2 separate regions of the Homo sapiens genome follow, and region 1 is linked to region 2. The links are contacts of gene promoters, found by promoter capture Hi-C in blood cells and fetal thymus (Javierre and others, 2016). All regions are on one chromosome and are shown on one strand. The core of a region is centred on a gene start or on the middle of the fragment in contact, and the rest is flanking DNA. Distances in the headings are between cores, read along the strand shown.

Region 1 (6,988 bases), core at 1-2,500, 210 kb after region 2:
TTGTTTTTTTTTTTTTTAGACAGAGTCTTGCTCTGTTGCTCAGGCTGCAGTGCACTGGTTGGATCTCAGCTTACTACTGCCTCTGCCTCCCAGTTTCAAGCGATTCTCCTGCCTCAGCCTCCCGAGTAGCTGGGATTACAGGCATGCGCCATCATGCCTGGCTAATTTTTGTATTTTTAGTAGAAACAGCGTTTTGCCATGTTTACCAGGCTAGTCTCAAGCTCCTAACCTCAAGTGATCCACCCACCTTGGCCTCCCAAAGTGCTGGGATTACAGGCATGAGTCACCATGCCCAGCCAGGAAAGAGAGGTTATTTCTGGCCTATGTCTGTGGAAACAAAGGGGAAGATGGGAAGGCAAAAGAGAGATGGATGTTTCAGGAAAAACTGAGGTGGGCGTGAGTAACTAATTGTTAGTGAAAGTTCCAGGAAGCTTAAACATTCTATATGTTTAAAATGCACATTGCAGCTGGGCGAGGTGGCTCACACCTGTAATCTCAGCACTTTGGGAGGCTGAAGCGGGAGGATCACTTCAGGCCAGGAGTTTGAGACCAGCCTGTACAACATAGTGAGACTCATGTCTCTTTTTTTTCCCTTTTTTTCTTGTTTCTTACTGGAAGGAATGAAATCCCTCTCTATAAATTTTTTTTTTTTTTTTTGAGACAGAGTCTCGCTCTGTTGCCCAGGCTGGAGTGCAGTGGCACGATCTCGGCTCACTGCAAGCTCCGCCTCCTGGGTTCACGCCATTCTCCTGCCTCAGCCTCCCATGTAGCTGGGACTACAGGCGCCTGCCACCGCGCCCGGCTAATTTTTTGTATTTTTAGTAGAGACAGGGTTTCACTGTGTTAGCCAGGATGGTCTCGATCTCCTGACCTCGTGATCCGCCCGCCTCGGCCTCCTAAAGTGCTGGGATTACAGGCATGAACCACCGCGCCCAGTCCAAAAAAATTTTTAAAAGAAGTTAGCCAGGCATGGTGGTGCATGCATGTAGTCCCCGCCACTCAGGAGGCTGAGGGGGAGGATGGCTTGAGCCGGGAGGTCAAGTCAGCAGTGAGCTATGATCGCACCACTGCACTCCAGGGTGGGCAAGGAAACGAGGCCCCGTGTCTTAAAAAACAAAACAAAACAAAAAAAAGAAACACCAAAAACAAACAAACATACAAACAAACAAACAAAAAACAAAGCATGTTTGCATGAGAGCACAGCTGGCCTGCCTGACCCCACAGGTGTTTCTGTGTGTCACTGGTCCTGGGCACTGCAGGTCTCCCTCCCCAGCAGTGTCCACTCTTCCCTGCCCCAAGGCAGACGTACCAACCAGATGATGTGGCTTCCAACTGGACTCCCTAAAATCCTGGTGCCTCCTGGAGGTGCCTTACAGGAAGACGGGGGCAAGGAGAGGCCCAGAGCCCAGCCCACACTGCCCAATCTGGGTGCAATTCCATCTGCGCAAAGGCTTTGTTGCTTTTCCTAAGTCCTGGGCTGCATCCTAAGTGCTCTGCAGACACACATGTCACTGTCTGGCTTTCTTGGACCCTCCACTTGGCAAAGTCCTAGCCATTGTGTTTTATTTCCCACCTTAACACACACACACACACACACACACACACACAAACAAACTTAAAAACAAAACTAAAAAAATACTATTGTCTGTACTCTGAGCTAAGGAAGAGCCGGCCAACCACAAGTTAGTGGCATTAGCCAGAAGCCGACGGGAGGAAGAGTCCAGCGCTTCCCGAAGCCCCAGATTCCCAAACTTCAGTTACCCACTCACCGCTGTCATGTTGCCTGCCACATCCTTGTACTATCTGTTGTATTTAACTTTGTTATTTAAATCAACTCAGGCCTAACAATGGCCTTTACCCTGAGGGGGAAAAAAAGTGACATTCATGGCTTTGATGAGCTGATCTATTTAGTACATGAAAATAAATTCAGAAGCATATTAAGATGAAACAGTGTTCACTCACAAATCTCCCAGTTGCCGTTGTGTTCCCCAGGCTTCACAGACAGCCTGGAAAAACTCCTCTAGGGCTTGCAGACTTAGCTGGAAACTAATCCTGAGCAGGAAGCTTGGCTTGAAGGGATAAGAGGGGACCCTCCAGGTTGGCAATCACGCCGTTTATTCGCACTTGGCAGCAAGACAATGGATGATGTGGGAGGTGCCAGGCCCCTGGGTTGGCACTAATTTGGAGTATGGTTGAGACAGGGCTGGAGAGAGGCATCTTAGAGGTGGCCCCCAAATCCGCAATCGGGAGAAAAAGGCAAGAATCGACTAGAGATTGTCAGGATAAAGGGAGGCACTGCCCACCCCTGCTATGTCTGTCTGCCCCCACAGGGGCTTCTTTAATACCTGGGGTTCCCTGGGTGATGAATGTCCTCCTACCCTGGCAAGGGGCCATACCTGTCGCCGTGGCCCCATAGGCAACCCTGATGAAAGAGTATCATTTCCAAGGGGGCTTTGGTTTCTGGGTGGCCCCACCTCGTCGTGGGGTAGATGGCACTGAAATGCTAACTGAGCGAGCCCTGGAAGTCACCAGGGGGCTCCGGAAGGTCACCCCTGACGTGGAAGGCCTGAGATCCTGAGGCCCATTTGTGTGGGGGGCACTGGTGGCTGGATGACCAGTGCTGGGGACATTCAGGTGGGTGAGGGAATGGGAAAGTCCCCGCTTCAGGGGGCGTGAAGAGTGTAACCCACCCATAGATAACTTCTGGGAGTCTGCCGCTGGCCCCGGCTCTGTCTTGGAGGGACCAGCTGGGTGAATGGCTCGCAGTGGTGCCTCCCTGGGGCGGGGCGAGTGGCTACCCCTGGGGGTAGGTGGTGGCGTCCACAAGAGAGCACGGAGCTTTGCGGCATCCCCCTTCGCCATCCGCGGGGCCCCGAAGCTGGCGCCTTCAGATCGGGAGCCAAACAGCGACTCATCACAGTAAGACGGGGTGTGGCTGATGGGTCTGGCAAATGGAAGATAAACGCCATGAGCTGGGGGATGAACAACCCCTCAAAACTTTAACAGCTCTCCCACCCACCCTGGGATGGCAGCAGCAGAGGAGGGTTGCCTGCAGATCCCAGGAGTCCTTGTCTCCCAGTCTGAAACCTACAGCGAGGCCACAGCCTCTTAAGCACCACTGCCCCCGGTCTCTGCTGATTTTCCCTGCGAAACATCCACTGCCCCTGCATCCTGACCCCATTCCCAGACATGTGCCCCAGGCCTGGACAATTTGCATATTCCATCCTCCTGGCCACATGGATTGGTTCACGAATGGCCAGATGACCCAAGCCTGTCCAATCAGAATCTGCCTTAGGACCTTGCAGAAACCACTAGGAAAGAGATGTCTTTCTGCCACCTGACTTTACTTCTTGCTAAGCTGATAGGATGTCAGCCCAAAGCAGCTTGTGGCTATCTCCTTCCTACTGAAGATTGAAGGGCATGCAGGGAAAAGCAGCACTAAGGTGGAGACAGACAGTTCCAGCCACAGTTTGAGCCCCTGTTACAGGAGCCCCACATGCCTTCTCCTGGGGAAGCCAGTTTGAATAAGTTTTCTGTCACTTGCAATTGAGAGTCACAATTAGTATAACCTTAGTCTTTATAGCCTCCACTTTTTCTTTTCTTTGTGAGACACGATCTCACTCTGTTGTTCAAGTGGAGTGTAGTGGCACAGTCACAGATCACAGCAGCCTCAAATTCCTGGGCCCAAGCAATCCTCTCACCTCAGCCTCCCTAATAGCTGGGACTACAGGCACAGTGCCACCAAGCCCAGCTAATTTTTTTGTTTTTGATTTTTAGTAGAGATCAGATTTATGTTGCTCAGGCTGGTCTTGAGTTCCTGAACTCAAGCAGCCCCCTGCCTTAACCTCTCAAAGTGTTAGGATTGCAGGAGTAAGCCACCGTGCCCATTTTCTTTTCTTTCTTTCTTTTTCTTTTTTTTTCTGAGACAGAGTCTCGCTCTGTCACCCAGGCTGGAGTGCAGTGGTGCAATCTCAGCTCACTGCAACCTCCGCCTCCTGGGTTCAAGCGATTCTCCTGCCTCAGCCTCCTGAGTAGGCGGGATTACAGGCATGTGCTACCATGCCCAGCTAATTTTTGTATTTTTAGTAGAGACGGGGGGGGTTTCACCATGTTGGCCAGGCTGGTCTTCAATTCCTGACCTCATGATCTACCCACCTCGGCCTCCCAAAGTGCTGGGATTACAGGCAAGAGTCACTGCGCCCGGCCTTTTTTTTTTTTTTTTTTAAGAGACAGGGTCTCACTCTGTCACCCAGGCTGGAGTGCAGTGACGCTCGCTGCAGCTGCGAACTCCTGAGCTCAAGTAATCCTCCCACTTCAGCCTCCAGAGTAGCTGGGACTACAGGTATGCACCACTATGCCCTGCTAATATTTTTATTTTTTGTAGAGACAGGGATCTCACTATGTTGCCCAGGCTGGTCTCAAACTCTGGAGCTCAAGCGATCCTCCCACCTCAGCCTCCCAAAGTGCTGGGACTACAGGCCTGAGTCAGCCTGTCTGGCCTTTTTTTTTTTTTTTTTTTTTATTCAACAGATATTCACGGCATACCTGCAAGATTCCACGCCCATAGTTTTTTTGGCCAGGACTGAAAGTGCTTCTATCCCCAAACTGCAAGTCTTTGAAAGGGCAAGCTTTTGCCACTTGGTTTAGCTGCTCAAACCACATTGGCTAATGCCTGTATATGTCTGGTGCCAAGGTTTTTGCTCAATAACTTCTCTACCTCTTATGCAACCCCTCACTTGACACCCTCTACCTGTTGGCATCCAGAAGAAAATTCCACCCTCCAGGTGAGCAAGGAGTTGTCACCTCCCTTTTCATGGACACCATACTTCCTAATGCAGCCTATCTTTACCTCAGTGTTTTCAGCCATGTTGTAGGTATCAGTGTTGCTAATCTCCACCTGACCCTGCCTTGTCTACAGAACTGGCAATAACTGATTCTTGTTTTTATAATAGGTATCATTCCCATTCTCATTTCATTTCTCTCATCTGAAATATGTCCCTGTGGTTCAGAATGAACCCTAACTTTAGCTGGCCAGTTCTTATGGACTGAATTGTGCCCACCCAAATTCATATGTTGAAGCCCTAACCCCAAATGTCTCTACACTTGGCCTTAATTATTTAGATTAATTAAAGGTAATTAAGGCTGGCCAGACATGGTGGCTCACATCTGTAATTCCAGCACTTTGGAAAGCAGAGGCGGGAGAACGACTTGAGCTCAGGAGTTTGAGACCAGCCTGGCCAACACAGTGAAACCCCGTCTCTACTAAAAATACAAAAATTAGCCAGGCATGGTGGCGTGCACCTGTAATGCCAGCTACTCGGGAGGCTGAGGCAGGAGAATTCCTTGAACCCGGAGGTGGAGGCTGCAGTGATCCGAGATGGTGCCACTGCACTCCAGCCTGGGCGACAGAGCCAGACTCCATCTCAAAAAAAAAAAAAAAAAAAAAAAAAAAAAAAAAAAAAAAAAGGTAACTAAGGCTAAATAACATTATAAGGGTAGGGGATCCTAATCCAATAGAACTGGTGTCCTTATGAGAGGAAGAGACATCAGGGGTGTGTGTGTATACAGAAAAGGCCCTTGCATGTAATTGAAGGATTAAAAAAAAATGAGAAAAGGCCCTATGATGACACTGTGAGAACGTGGCCAACTGCAAGCCAAGGAGAGAGGCCTCAGGAGAAACCAAACCTGCCAACACCTTGATCTTGGGCTTCCAGCCTCCAGACTGTGACAAAATAAATTTGTGTTGTGGCCAGGCGCGGTGGCTCATGCCTGTAATCCCAGCACTTCGGGAGGCCAAGGCAGGTGGATCACCTGGTCGGGAGTTCAAGATCAGCCTGACCAACATGGAGAAACCCCGTCTCTACTAAAAATACAAAATTAGCCAGGCATGGTGGCGTAATCCCAGCTACCAGGGAGGGTGAGGCAGGAGAATCGCTTGAACCTGGGAGGCAGAGGTTCAGGTTAGCTGAGATGGCTCCACTGCACTCCAGCCTGGGCAACAAGAGCAAAACTCCGTCTCAAAAAAAAAAAAAAAAAATTAAGTCAGGCATGGTGGCATGTGCCTGTAGTCCCAGCTACTCAGGAGACTGAGGCAGGAGAGTCGCTTGAACCCGGGAGGTGGAGGTTGTGGTGAGCCAAGATCGTGCCACTGCACTCCAGCCTGGGCAACAGAGCGAGACTCCATCTCAAAAAAAAAAAAAATTGTGTTGTTTAAGCCACCCAGTCTGTGGTATTTTGTCATGGTGGCCCTAGCCAACTACTGTGCTAATCTTCTGTGTCTTTGTCCAAACCACTGATAACAATAAACAGGACAGAGCCCTGTGGCTCACCACTAGACACCTCCCTCCAGGCTGATATTAATCTGAAACAGTCCAAATAATCTAATTCTAATCTAATTAATTAACAACAATAACAATTTGCATTAGTTCCTATTTTTCTAACTTGTTCATAAAAATGCAGCAAGAACCATTTTCAATTTTTTTTTTTTTTTTTTTTTGGAGACAGGGTCTCACTCTGTCACTCAGGCTGGAGTGCAGAGGCGTGATCTCAGCTCATTGCAATCTCTGCCTCCTAGGCTCAAGTGATCCTCCCACCTCAGCCTCCCGGGAGCTGGGAGTACAGGCGCACACCACCACACTTGGCTAATTTTTGCATTTTTTATAGAGACACAGTTTCACCACGCTGCCCAGGCTGGTCTCAAACTCCTGAGCTCAAGTGATCCCACCTCAACCTCCAAACGTTCTGGGATTACAGGCATGAGCTACCCCATGTGGCCAAAACCCATTTTCAAAATGACTTCAGAAACACCACATCTATGTCATTTCAAGGATCGAACACATTAATATTAATAAGCTTATGCAAATTTCTCTGTGATCTTATGCCTCAGCTGACTCCTCTGGGCCTCAGATGCCCAGTTTGTGACATTTGGGGATAGGGAGTTCACCATCACAACCATCAACACTACCATTTATTGACAGCTTTCTAAGTA
Region 2 (6,576 bases), core at 1,286-3,785:
TAAGGCCGGTGAATAACTTGAGGCCAGGAGTTCAAGACCCGCCTGGCCAACATGGTGAAATCCTGTCTCTACTAAAAATACAAAAACAATAGCCCAGTGTGGTGGTGTGCGCCTGTAATCCCAGCCACTTGGGAGGCTGAGGCAGGAGAACCACTTGAACCCAGGGAGTGGAGGTTGCAGTGAGCTGAGATCATGCCACTGCACTCTAGCCTGGACGACAGAGTAAGACTCCATCTCAAAAAAAAAACAGATCCTAAGAGAGAAAAAAATGCATTAAGGCCCTATGAATAAATAAATAAATAAATACACACACACACACACACACACACACATCTTAGATATTCGCCTTTAATTAAGCTTTTAACCATTGAGCTCTTTAAAAAATCCTTTTAAATCTCATCACCATATTTTAGCTGGGACAAACTGCTAATATTTCAAAAGTAACACAAACATCAAACCAGAAAGGACTTGATTTAGGAACCAAGCCCAGGCCACGGTGGTGAAAAAGGAACAGAATCTTAGCTACTGAACTAGCGTGAGGTGACAGCCATGTAGCCTCTTTCAGTTTGGCTTGGCTAGCAAAAGATGGCCTTGTTATGTAAATAATGCCCCTCAGGTAATCAAAATCCTTGTCTCTCTCTCTCTTTTTTCTTTTGCTGGCTGTTTTTTCTTTTTCCTTTTTTTTTTTTTCCAGCTGTGGGTATTTAGCCAATTCATGAGACCTTGTTCGCCATAATATGAAACTTTCCTTCAGATTTGACCAAGTCAAATGGAGTTGGTCCAGTCCAATGGGGAAAAGACAGAAGCAACAAAACAACAACAGAAACAAAAACAGTTAAGCAAGGGAAACAAACAATCAAGCAATTTATACGATTACTGCACGCTCTAAAAGTAGGGAGAAATTAAGACCAGCTGGTTGTTAACCCTAACTTCTAGTCATGGGGCCCAGGCTGAAGACCGCTCTCTACCATCCTAGAAGCGGGGAAATCTCAAACTTGCCTTCCCTGCCGGACACAAGCGAAACTCCAGAAAGGAGCTGCCTGCTTGCCATCATCATGGAAGCCAGAAAACTCACCTTCCTTGTTGGAAGTGAGTAAAACGCAGAAAAGGAGCTGTTCAGGGAAATCAAGCTTAGATATCAACCAATTGTGGGAGATCAGGAGTTCTCTGGAGGTGGGGAGCTCCCAGGCCTCAGCAAACTGTCCTATTTTGGAGGGCAATCAAGATCGCTCAAGGCCGGCATGGTGGCTCACGCCTGTAATCCCAGCACTCTAGGAGACTGAGGCGGGTGGATCACTTGAGGTCAGGACTTCAAGACCAGCCTGGCTAACATGGTGAAACCCCATCTCTACTAAAAATACAAAAAATTAGCTGAGTGTGGTGGCACATGCCTATACTCCCAGTTATTTGGGGGGTTGAAACAGGAGCATCGCTTGAACCCAGGAGATGGAGGTTGCAGTGAGCCAAGATCATGCCATTGCACTCCAGCCAGGGTGACAGAGCAAGACCCACCAAGCACCAGTAGGAGACTTGTCAAAGGTCAGGGCCACCTCCACCCAGGGTCCCTTTCATGAGTCTCCAATCTGTAAATCAAAAAGAATCAAAAAGATTGAGACAGGACTCAATCCATTTAGAAATTTATTTCGCCAGGGTTAAGAATGCACCTGGGAGACAGGTCTGTGCTTTTCTCCAGAGATGACTTTAGGTGTCAGTATTTAAAGGAGAAAAGCAAGCTGGAGGGGAAAGAAGGAGGCTATGGCCACATTACCAAATCCACAGTTTGTAAGAGAAGAGGGGCAGATAGGGAAGTAGCCAATTATGTATTTGTCTTGATCTCAATAAATCGGCACTTTACATAAGATAAGGTGAACATAGAGTAGCGACCTGTGGAGATATTTAACTTTTTTTTTTCTTTCTGTTGTGAAGGCTGGAGTGCAGTGGCGAGATCTAGTCTCACTGTAACCTCTGCCTCCCAGGTTCAAGCAATTCTTGTGCCTCAGCCTCCTGAGTAGCTAGGATTACAGGCACGTGCCACCACACCCGGCTGATTTTTGTATTTTTAGTAGAGACGGGATTTCACCATGTTGGCCAGGCTGGTTTCGAATTCCTGACCTCAGGTGATCCACCCGCCTCGGCCTCCCAAAATGCGGAGCCAATATTTAACCTTTCATCTGAAGCTATCTGCTTAGGAACTAAAGGAAAGGCAGTTTCTTACATGACTCAGCTTTTAGCTTAATTCTTTTTCTTTTGGCATAGTGAGTTGGGGGTCCCAATTTTTTATTTTCCTTTCACGAAACTGAGGACAGAAAGGGGAAGTGGAAAGAGGGAGGAGGAGTGGGTTGTGGGAAAGGCAGGAGGAAGCTGCCAAAGAAGAAAGCTTGGCCAGATTCCACCTCCCTTCTGACAGCCTCAGTGGCCTCAAGCCAGGGGGGTGGGTCCTGGCAGGAGGGAGGGGGGGGTGTAGCCAGCCCCAGGGCCCCATTGGCTGCCCAGAGGTGCCAGAGGAATAAAGCCCAGGACCAAGTAGCCCCTGGGACCATTCAGAAGACTGTCCACCCGTCCTCAGCCCCCTCTCTTCGTGGGCTATCTACTCAGTTGATCCCTCCCTCGCTGGCTTGGCTCTGACTCCTGCTCAGACCCATCACCTTTGCCGGGTAAGTGGCCCCATCCTCAGTCCCACCTCAGGACTGGAGTGTCCCGGGCTAGCCTGTGGTTTCCCAGGGGAAGAGGGAGACATAGAAAGAGTCTGTCAAGGCTGGGCATGGTGGCTGATGCCTGTAATCCCAACACTTTGGAAGGCTGAGGTGGGAGGGTTGCTTGAGGCCACAAGTTCAAGACTGAGCTGGGCAACAGAGTGAGACCCCCCCCAATCTCTACAAAAAAAATTTTTTTTTTTTAAGACAGAGGTCTCACTCTGTCACCCAGGCTGAAGTGCAATGGCACAATCTGGGCTCACTGCAACCTCCACCTCCTGGGTTCAAGCGATTCTCCTGCCTCAGCCTCCCGAGTAGCTTGGACTACAGGCGTGTGCCACCACGCCCGGCTAATTTTTGTATTTTTAGTAGAGATGGGGTTTCACCATGTTGGCCAGGCTGGTCTCGAACTCCTGACCTAAAAAAAGAATTTAATTAGTATAGTGTGGTGGTGCACACCTGTAGTCCCAGCTACTGGGAAGGCTGAGTTGGGAGGATCGCTGGAGCCCAAGAGGTCGAGTCTGCAGTGAGCAATTATTGCGCCCCTGCACTCCAGCCTGGGTGACACAGCAAGACCTTGTCTCAAATTTTTAAAAAACAGCCATTTGGGCCTAAACACTGAGTTTGTGTCCAGTTCTGTGCCTCAGCTTCCACATCTGTAGAATGGGGATGAGCATAGCGCCTTCCTCCTCAGGTGGTTGTGACGGTGAAAGGATGACCTGCACTTAAGGTGTCCAGCCCAGATTTCATAATAGTTCATATCGACTGAGCACTTACTGTGAACCAAGTGAAAGGGAAGGTGGCTTCCGACTGCCGGAGTGGGCAGACAGCGGCTTCAGGGCTCCCTCCCTCCTCCTCCCCGGGCACAACCTCTTCTGAAGTCTTGCGATCCTTGGGGCAGGGATCCTTGGGGCAGGCTGGATGCAGTTAATGGATGCTCACTTCACGGAAAGCCGCGGCAGAGGGAGCCCTGTCCTTTTACCTGAAGGCATCCCATGGCACCGCCTGGGACAAACGGCGAGAGAGGCGCCCCAAACCCACCTGAAAAGGGTCTTCGTGGCCGGCTCCTCTGACTCCCACCCCGATTGTCCCTGAGGCCAGGCCTTGGTGACCTACACCGGCCTTTAATGTCAAGTCAGTCGGTGTGGTGGCTCACGCCTGTAATCCCAGCACTTTGGGAGGCCAAGGCAGGCAGATGACTTGAGGTCAGGAGTTCGAGACCAGCCTGCCCAATATGGTGAAACCTTGTCTCCACTAAAAATGCAAAAATTATTCGGGCGTGGTGGTGCACGTCTGTGATCCCAGCTACTTGGGAGGCTGAGGCAGGAAAATCGCTTGAACCCAGAAGGCGGAGGTTGCAGTGAGCCGAGATCATGCCGCTGCACTCCAGCCTGGGTGACAGAGGGAGGTTCTCTAAAAATAACTAAATAAAAACCGGGATCCCATTGTTTGGGGATTAACCTCCAGGAGCTGAAAGTTCATGCCGATTTGGGGATGTCCTGTTTTGAAGTTTGCCCCAGTCTCTGATTTTTATTCGAGAGATCCAGCGGAGAGAGGGTGTCTGTTCAAGTTCCCCTCCCAGGCCCCGAATGTCAGTTAATTCAGATAGACAAGGGGTGACCTATTTAGGGGATGCTAAGTCTGGCGGGGCAGTTGGAATCCCCACCCCTCATTCTCCCTCTGACCAAGGGATGTCTGGCTCATTCTGGGAGCGGGGGATGGATGTCCAAGCTAGGAGTGCCCAGGACAGGGGGCTGGACAAGGTGGCATTGGAGATGGGTCTCTGGCTAGCCACCCTTGCCTGGCCTTCTGGGATGGTGGAGGGAGGGGGAACCAGAGAGCCCCTTGGCCATCGTCAGCTGATCTCTTCTGGCCCGGCCCAAGTTGAGGAGAATCAAATCCTCCCTGAGACTCTCAGCAGAAGGCAGGGGAGATGGGAAGGCTGGGTGGGTGGACGTGGCTGTGGCTAGACCCCGGGCCACCCCAGCTGCTTCATCCCCCAGAGCCCATCCAGAAGCAGGAGCCTGAGCCACACCCATGGGTCGCAGAGAGAGCCTGAGCCCTGGAGCCAGCTGCCCGAGTTCAAATCCTGCCTCCCTGCCTCACTCACAGCGTGACTTTGGGCAAATTATGTTAATATTCCCCTTCCTGTTGCTGTGTACCAAACTACCCCAAAATGTGACTTAAAACAACAGCAAGCCAGGTGCTGTGGCTCATGCCTGTAATCCCAGCAGTTTGGGAGGCTGAGGTGGGCAGAACGCTTGAGGCCAGGAGTTGGAGACCAGCCTGGCCAACATAGCAAAACCCCATCTCTACTGGAATGAATGAATGAATGAATGAATGAATGAATGAATAAAATTTAAAAGCTGTGATTAGTCACTGCTATAATAATTATGACAAAATTAATAATTATGAAAGAGCTTTTCCTAACTGAATATTGGGCTTCCCAAAAGTTAGGTTATTTTGTTTTTTTTTAAATAAATATTTATTGAACATCTACTATGAGTCAGGCATTTTGCTGGGTCCTGGGATCGTCCATTTAAGCCAAGATACTTGGAACTGCATGTCAGAAGAGCCAGCTGCCAGGTTGTTTTTGTTTGTTTGTTTGTTTGTTTGAGACAGAGTCTCGATCTGTAGACGAGGCTGGAGTGCAGTGGCGCGATCTCGGCTCACTACAAGCTCCGCCTCCCGGGTTCACGCCATTCTCCTGCCTCAGCCTCCCAAGTAGCTTGTATTTTTAGTAGAGACGGGGTTTCACCATGTTAGCCAGGATGGTCTCGATCTCCTGACCTCGTGATCCGCCCGCTTCGGCCTCCCAAAGTGCTGGGATTACAGGTGTGAGTCACCGCGCCCAGCCCAGGTTTTTTTTAAATGTATGCATTTAAGTAAGTAATAGAGGCACATGGTAAAACATCAAACTGTGCAAAAGGTGGGTGCTATGATCCCGAGGGCCAGCTCTCCTCAGAGGCCCCACCCTGGCCAGCCTGTCATGCATGTTTCCTGAAATGCTCTGTGCACATGGAAACATGTGGAACAAAACAAAAAAAAATTCAAATAAAAAAATTAAAAAAATATATAAAAGAAACATGTGGACTATATGTGTGTGTGGATGGATTGTGCGTGTGTGTGGATGGATTGTGTGTGGGAGTGGATCGTGTGTGTGTGGATGGAGTATGTGTGTGTGGATGGATTATCTGTGTGTGTGGGTGTCCCTGAATTTTTCACATAGATAGATAGACTATTCTTTTTTTTTTTTGAGACACAGTCTCACTCTGTTGCCCAGGCTGGAGTGCAGTGGCTCGATCTTGGCCCATTACAACCTCCACCTCCTCGGTTCAAGTGATGCTCCTCCCTCAGCCTCCTGAGTAGCTGAGATTACAGGTGCCTGCCACCATGCCTGGCTAATTCTCTTTCTTCTTCTTTTTTTTTTTTTTCTCAAGACAGAGTCTTGCTCTGTCACCCAGGCAGGAGTGCAATGGCGCGATCTCGCTCACTGCAACCTCCGCCTCCTGGGTTCAAGTGATTCTCCTGCCTCAGCCTCCTAAGTAGCTGGGGTTACAGGCGTGCGCCACCATGCCCAGCTAATTTTTTGTATTTTTAGTAGAGACGGGGTTTCACCATGTTGGCCAGGCTGGTCTCGAACTTCTGACCTTGTGATCCACCAGCCTTGGCCTCCCAAAGTGCTGGTATTACATGCATAAGCCACTGTGCCCGGCCTCACCTCATGCATTTTGAAAGCTCCAAGGTTTGAGTGTTCTCTCTTCAGCCTCCCAGCAAATGTGTGAGAGGTCAGGAGTGGAGGGTGATCCCTGATAGAGCTGAGGCCAAGGCGTGATTACCTGTCTGATGTCACATGGTGAGTAGGTGGCCCACTTGCGATTAG

The links. The method cuts DNA at HindIII sites, captures the fragments that hold promoters and counts their contacts. A CHiCAGO score of 5 or more calls a contact.
Region 1: a contact is called between a fragment that was not itself captured here and the fragment with the promoter of SDS in region 2, in 3 of 17 cell types (M1 macrophages, M0 macrophages and megakaryocytes). The highest score is 7.4, in M1 macrophages.

The regions. Positions count from the first base shown.
Region 1 is chr12:113,187,266-113,194,253 of GRCh38, reverse strand. RITA1 (RBPJ interacting and tubulin associated 1) reads right to left here. Exons shown (of 4, transcript NM_032848.3): 4 at 1,886-2,944. The coding sequence ends at 2,437. Among named protein-coding and RNA genes, the nearest start is that of RITA1, 5.0 kb to the right of the region's middle. RefSeq lists a silencer at 1-150 and enhancers at 2,109-2,762, 6,892-6,988. The HindIII fragment of the contact is 1,633 bases long and covers 434-2,066 here.
Region 2 is chr12:113,399,846-113,406,421 of GRCh38, reverse strand. It overlaps SDS (serine dehydratase), which reads left to right and starts at 2,535. Exons shown (of 8, transcript NM_006843.3): 1 at 2,535-2,654. RefSeq lists enhancers at 4,097-4,596, 4,597-5,098. The HindIII fragment of the contact is 9,232 bases long and covers 2,380-6,576 here.